Regions from separate parts of the Homo sapiens genome. Here region 1 is linked to region 2. The links are contacts of gene promoters, found by promoter capture Hi-C in blood cells and fetal thymus (Javierre and others, 2016). All regions are on one chromosome and are shown on one strand. The core of a region is centred on a gene start or on the middle of the fragment in contact, and the rest is flanking DNA. Distances in the headings are between cores, read along the strand shown. Region 1 holds the start of POLG (DNA polymerase gamma, catalytic subunit). Region 2 holds the start of KLHL25 (kelch like family member 25).

Region 1 (3,077 bases), core at 1-2,500, 3.5 Mb after region 2:
CTTGCGGCTGCTGAGGCTGCTGTTGCTGCTGCTGCTGCTGCTGCTGCTGCTGCTGCCGCCGCCGCTGCCCGTCGCTGGGGTCGGACGCGGGGACGGAGCTGGAGACCCAGCGCCCCGGAGCTGGAACCGGCCCTGGCCCGACGGTGGCGCCGGCCACCTTCCTCCAGAGCAGGCGGCTCATGGTTGGTGCAGGGACCCCCACGCTGGGAGTCAGAACACCTGGCTTTGGGCTCCAGCTTGGCTTCTTTTACTGGCTGGAAGACGTGGAGAGAGACACGTCCTGTCTCTGCTCTCCTGTCAGTGAAATGGGTTTGACCATGCCTGCCTTCCACCCCAAATCCTAAAGGAGACAGATGATATAAAGCGTTATTTTACCATATATGTAATAGGTGTATCCATAATCATCATTCCTTGAGCATTTACTGCGTCCCCAACACTGTGCCAGGCGCTTCAGTTGCATTTTCCGTTAAGCCTCAAAACTTGGGAAACGTCAATACCCCTCCTGGGGGAACCGGGGTCCACGCAACTTCGTCAGTGAACCCACGTGGGGAAGCCGAGGGCAGCGAGTAAGAGAGCAGTATCTGGAGTAGGGCGACGCGGTTTTGAACCCCGCTTCTGGCTCTCTCGAGCTGTGTGACCTTGGGCAAAGCTCCTTAGGCCCTGATATCCTATTCTGTAAAATGGGATTACGGATTCTGCCTGTCACACCGGGCTGCTGTCTGGGGGACACAGGGCGCCTATGTCGTGCGGCCCTGCTCTTGGCAAGCGCTCGGCAAATGGTGGCTGCCATTACCGCGACCGGCGCGGGCCTAGCGTCGAGAGGTGCCAGCGCCCGGATTCGAACCCGCAGGGTGGGCCGCCGTCCCCCGGGACCCACACCCACACCCGGACCACGGCCCACCCGGCCGAGAGCGTCCTGCAGGAGGAGTCGGCGGCCACCCCCGTGCGCCCCGCCGCCCGCCTGCGCCCGGCAGAGGCGCCGCGGTGCGCCCTGGGACTAGCCGCCGCCCTGCTCCGGGCCTCGCTCCCTGACTGGAGAGGGAGGGGCCGCGCCGTCGCTCAGCGACCCGGCCTCCCCGCCGCCGACCCCGCCGGAAACCTCGGTCCTCACGGTGCTTCCCGGTCTGCTGCTCCCCCGACCCCAGGCCCACGGCACGGCGTCCCCCTTCGCGCGGCCTACGCAGCCTCGGGGTAGCGTGTGGCCTCCACCCGGCCGGTCCGCTTCGCTGGCAGCCGCAACTTCCCGTCTGCACCCAGCTAGGTCCCGCGGCTACCCGAGAGGCAAGCGGGAGACTCCCAGCGCGACCAATAGGAGGGCCGCCAATGGAGCGGTCCGCCCGCGGGGGGAGAAGGGGGACTTCTGGGTGGGCTCTCCCTGCGGAACGCGCGAACCAAAGGCCAACCTCCCCTTCTCAAGGAGCAGGTGGATTGGTCCCGAGCTAGCTGGTGGGCGGAGGTGACGTTTTTATAAGTTGCTCAAGAGACGGTAACAACCGACGGGCCGCGTGGCCTAATGGATAAGGCGTCTGACTTCGGATCAGAAGATTGCAGGTTCGAGTCCTGCCGCGGTCGAAGGGAGGTTATGATTAACTTTTAGTTTATTCCTCCCTCAGGAACGAAGTATTGGGACAATGTGAACGTAGTCGCCGCCGATTCCCACCGCACTTCAAAGATGTGGGAACGCCAAGATCCGCGGAAGTAACCACGCCCAGCAAGTCCCTGCGAGATTGCCCGCCTACGTGTCTCAGCGGAGGCACATTTCTAAAATGTACCAGGTCTCTCGCACCCCGACGCAGGTGGAGGAAAGTGGAGAGGGAGGGGCATCCTGTACAGAAATCTCAATTTATACTCAATTGATGGTTGGCAAGAGTTGGGGCTCGCAGCCAAAGCGAGGCTCCCTCCCTCGCCCATCCGGTGCTGCCTCCTCGTCCAGAGCAATTCTGAGGGGTAAAAATGTTGCCTTCCGTTGAACCTGAATTTGCCCGCAGATGCTAGCCTCCGGCCCACAGCGCGGCTGGAGCTTGTCCCCTTCCCCAGCTGTTTCCAGTCTCCGCATCCGTCTTGTGTTGCTCCAGGTGCTTCAACAGCTCTCAGCGCTCGGTGGTTGGTGAACTGTGGTAAAGTGCACGCAGAATAAGGTCTACGTGATTAAGCACCGCCTGGGGGTTGGGGTCTGGAGGCCCAGCTGCACAGATGAAAGGGAGGCTCAGAGACGTTTGGGACCAACCGAGATCACACAGCTGATTAGGAATAAAATTCAGGTCAAGCTGAAAGTCGGCCGCCACCGTCCAGCGTGGATCCCAGGACACCGTGAACGGACTACAGAAGTTGACTTTCGCGTTTTTAAGGAGTGGGGTGCAGGGAAACAATCCTCCGCCGGCCCTGCGGGCTGATGCCGACCCTCACCTGCTCCCGCCACGTGGAGAGGTAGAGAGAAGCCCCGGGCCAAGCAGCATTGAGCCCTGGTCCCTTCTATTTAAATATGAAATATTTTGCATACACTTTTCTAGATGTACTTAATATACACAATGTTTTAATGTTTGTGATTTTTTTGTTTTGCCAAAAAAATACAATCAATCAGAAATTCATCTGTTTTTTTTTTTTTTTTCACATAACTGTTGACTTTTACAAAATACTGGAAGGAGAGGCTCTCAGCTTAAATCAGGGAGTCCCTGAATGGGGAAAACATTTTCATCTTGTTTCTTCTAACCGCCTACTGATACTTGGCATTTCCTCCAATTATGAGCATAGGCTGTCAGCCACAGTGGTATTAACAGTGCCTGTGACTTTGTCCCCTCCAGCAACCACAGATATTTTCATAACGCATTACAAGTGCTGCACATTTTTCAAAATTTGTTTGCACTTATCTGTACTTCAAAATAACAGGGGTTACTAGACTGCCACTAGATCCTGTTAGTTAATAAGTTTACCTATTTGTCCTAATATTTGAATACCTTTGGTGTCCTTTGTAATCCTTCATGTTTTATGTGCTTAAAAACACTATTCTTCCATATAACCAAAAACTGCCTGTACCCCTATTGAAATAAAAATTAATAAAACATATTTCACAGAAAAAA
Region 2 (2,959 bases), core at 287-2,786:
AAGACTGACTACGTCAACCTTCACAGGCACAGCTTGTGGACCCAAGAGCCTCCGGTCTTGGGACACCAAATGGACCCTGAGGTGGGGTAGACTTTGTGTCCTACTCTTCCCCAGACCCCCACGCAAGCCTTCACCAACATGCCAGGAATCCTCACAGCTCAGATCAGCACACTGAGCATCAGTTCCTCCTATGAATGGGGAGACTGGGACCCAGGGTCCCAGAGGGCTTGGCCCCATAACGGTCACTGGAATCTGGTCCAGGATACAGACCGTGGAATCCTGCCTCCTCTCCTGGTGCTACTGCTAACTTCCTTCCCTTCCTCTCTCTATTGGGCCGATAGAGTGGAACCAAATGGTCCAGACACCTGGCATTCTCTGCCCTGACTACCGAGGAGAGTCAAAGTCCAGCCCGCCTTCCCCAAGGTCAAATTCACCGGGATCCAGCAGGACCCAAGAGCGTCCAGATTAAATCTGCAGGGGCCTGGGTCCGCCCCCTCACCCACAGTTCGTTGGGTCAGGCCTCTAGAGAGATGTTTCTTTGTTCAAAGACAATGGGAATGCACTTTGGGGGCTTAGAGCAGCAACACAAAAAAAGTATCTGGTATCTCCCGGGCACAATCCCCCAAGAGAAAAGCTTCTAAAGCAACTACGAAAGAGACAGGGGGAGTGGGGGCGTAACATCGCGCGGTGTGTCTCGGAGCCAGGGCAAGTGTGGTAATTAGAGTCAGGCTAGAGGGCTTGCTCTGGACCTGCCAGTCTGGCCGCCACCCAGGTGGACAGGTGGGTGTGCCTTTGAGTGCGACCTTTCTCTGCCGCTGGACAGTTCTGCAAACCGAAACGAGGGACCCTGGCAGGCGGAACGTGAACGGCTCGGGGCTCCGCGGCCAGGCCCGCGCAAACCCTCCCCTTGTGAACCCCGGGCCCTCGCTCTGCGCCAGGCAGGCAGCCATCCGGCCTGGGCGTCCAAGGCGCGGGGCATCGCCGCTCGCGTCCTCAAAGACAAGCAGTCTCTCTTTCCAGGATCAATAGTAATTTTTTAAAAAAAAGAGTCTGCGGACTCAATGAATCAACCACTCCCTGGGGAAAGAGTAGCGGCTCCCGCGCGCAACATCCATTTGCCAAACAATTCATTCCCTCGCGCAGAGCTCTCGGCGAATTCCCTCGCGGAGCCGCGGGGTGCCGGCCGGCCGCCGCTCCCCACCATTGTCCCAGGGCCCCGGCCCCAGCCGCGGGGCCCCCTCCCGGGACACGTAGTCCCGCGGGGGCTCCGAGCGCTTGGTCCCGGCCCGGCCCGGGGTGGTGAGTCCCCAGCGCAGGGAGCGGGGGCGCGGGTGCTGCGGCCAGAGCACGGCGTCCCCGCCCGGCCTGGATACTCACTGCCGGAGACGATCCCCGCCGCCGCCGCCGCCTCAGAGACCACTCCCGGCAGCCCGCGCGAGCTCAACAGGCTCCGCCGCGGCTCCCGTCGGCCGGCTCTCCACAGGCAAAAACGCTCTCGCTGCGATACAGCCTAGGCGCCGCCAACAAACTAGTTTCTCCGGCCTTCCCGCCCCGCCTCCCGGCCCGAAGAGCAGCAGCCAATCAGAGGCATCGCCTCTGTGACGGATGGGCAGCCGAACCCTTCAGTGCAGCCGCAGAAAAGAAGGGGGTGGGCCCCAGGCCGCGCCGGCACCGGGGGGTGGGGGGCCGGGGGCGGGGAGGGGGGGGGACCGGGGGCGGGGCGGGGCGAGGAAAAGGACTTCGACCAGATTCTTAAAGAGACAGGCGCCTGCCCAACCCCGCCGCCCAAGTTTGGGAACAAAACGCGACGGTGTTCTAGAGCTTTCCAGAGGGAGCACTGTAGATTGCATATGCCTCTTTTGTGTTCGGGTCACAAGTGTTGTAGATCTCTTTAGACTCTTCAGAGCCACACTAGTAGTTGCCCGAGTGTTAATGAAACCCTGTCTTTCACTCTGGGCTTGTTTGAATGTTTGGGACTTTCTGCAGCCTCCAAACCCCACCTGTACTTGAAATCTGTATTTTTTGGAGTATTTCAGCTCTCCTCTCTGTGTCATTTCTCACTAAACTCCTTTCGTAAGCCAGCCTTTAAATGTTCGTTCATTCATTCATTCATCCATCCATCCAATAATTTCTTCCAGGAACGTTTCCTGGACGCCCACACCATGCACTCATCTTGGAGGGGGAGAACGGTTTGTGATTCTTCGTCCTTTTCCCTCCTGACTACTACTTCAGCTTACTGTGTGTGTCCAATCTCATCCGTAAAGCGGCAGATAAAAACTCCTCATCGGATTATTTGGGGGATTAAAGGAGACAAATTCCCAGACAAATGAGTGCGCAATAAATGTCCTCTCTTTTCTCCCTCCCAATGAAAATCGATAATTCAAGTAGGTTGCTTAAGGATACAAAAGGTAAAGCATAGAAAGTGATAAGAACGAAAGAGCCAAGCCTGGGGCGGGGAAATTCCCAGGAAGCAGAGGTCACCCTGACGGAGGTGGAGGTGGGAGGTGCAAGGAAGGTCTAAGAAAGTGTACAAAGATTTGGGAGAGGGGATAGGATTGTGACTAGTGGAACCTGGGAAATAGAGCCCCTGGGTAGAAAGCTGCTTAGACAGGACAGATATGCCAGGGTTAAAAGACTGGGAGATGATGAGAAGATACCACCAGGGAAGGCATTTTTGGGAAACAGCTTGATGTTCTGGGTTTGAAGCCCCGCCCTGCCCCTCAAGAGCTGGGTAGGACTGAAGCAGATGGCTCAGACTCTCTGGTGTCTGGTTCTTACTGGTGAAGAGGATTCTAAAACCTTTCTTGCAGGGGTATGGGAAAGATTAAGATAACATATGGAATAGGCCTGGCATGTAGTAAGTGCTCAGTACAGATTTGTGCTTCCATTTGGCCCAGATCTGCAGACATCTAAGGCACCAGGGTTCTGATATTTATGAACAATATTGGCCAGAGGTAAG

The links. Contacts are between HindIII fragments. The CHiCAGO score rates a contact against its expected background, and 5 or more counts as called.
Region 1: the fragment with the promoter of POLG here is called in contact with the fragment with the promoter of KLHL25 in region 2 in 1 of 17 cell types (monocytes); the score reaches 5.9 in monocytes.

Annotation. Positions count from the first base shown.
Region 1 is chr15:89,333,574-89,336,650 of GRCh38, forward strand. It overlaps POLG (DNA polymerase gamma, catalytic subunit), which reads right to left and starts at 1,251. Exons shown (of 23, transcript NM_002693.3): 1 at 1,100-1,251; 2 at 1-340. The coding sequence starts at 181. It overlaps POLGARF (POLG alternative reading frame), which reads right to left and starts at 236. Exons shown (of 2, transcript NM_001430120.1): 1 at 1-236. The coding sequence starts at 236. POLG-DT (POLG divergent transcript) reads left to right here and starts at 914. Exons shown (of 2, transcript NR_186332.1): 1 at 914-1,281; 2 at 1,614-2,588. It overlaps TRR-TCG1-1 (tRNA-Arg (anticodon TCG) 1-1), which reads left to right and starts at 1,500; the gene lies at 1,500-1,572. RefSeq lists enhancers at 519-1,020, 1,890-1,989, 2,000-2,069, 2,410-2,459 and a silencer at 710-1,309. The HindIII fragment of the contact is 8,583 bases long and covers 1-3,077 here.
Region 2 is chr15:85,793,389-85,796,347 of GRCh38, forward strand. It overlaps KLHL25 (kelch like family member 25), which reads right to left and starts at 1,537. Exons shown (of 3, transcript NM_022480.4): 1 at 1,378-1,537. RefSeq lists silencers at 1,208-1,507, 1,658-1,727. The HindIII fragment of the contact is 2,328 bases long and covers 633-2,959 here.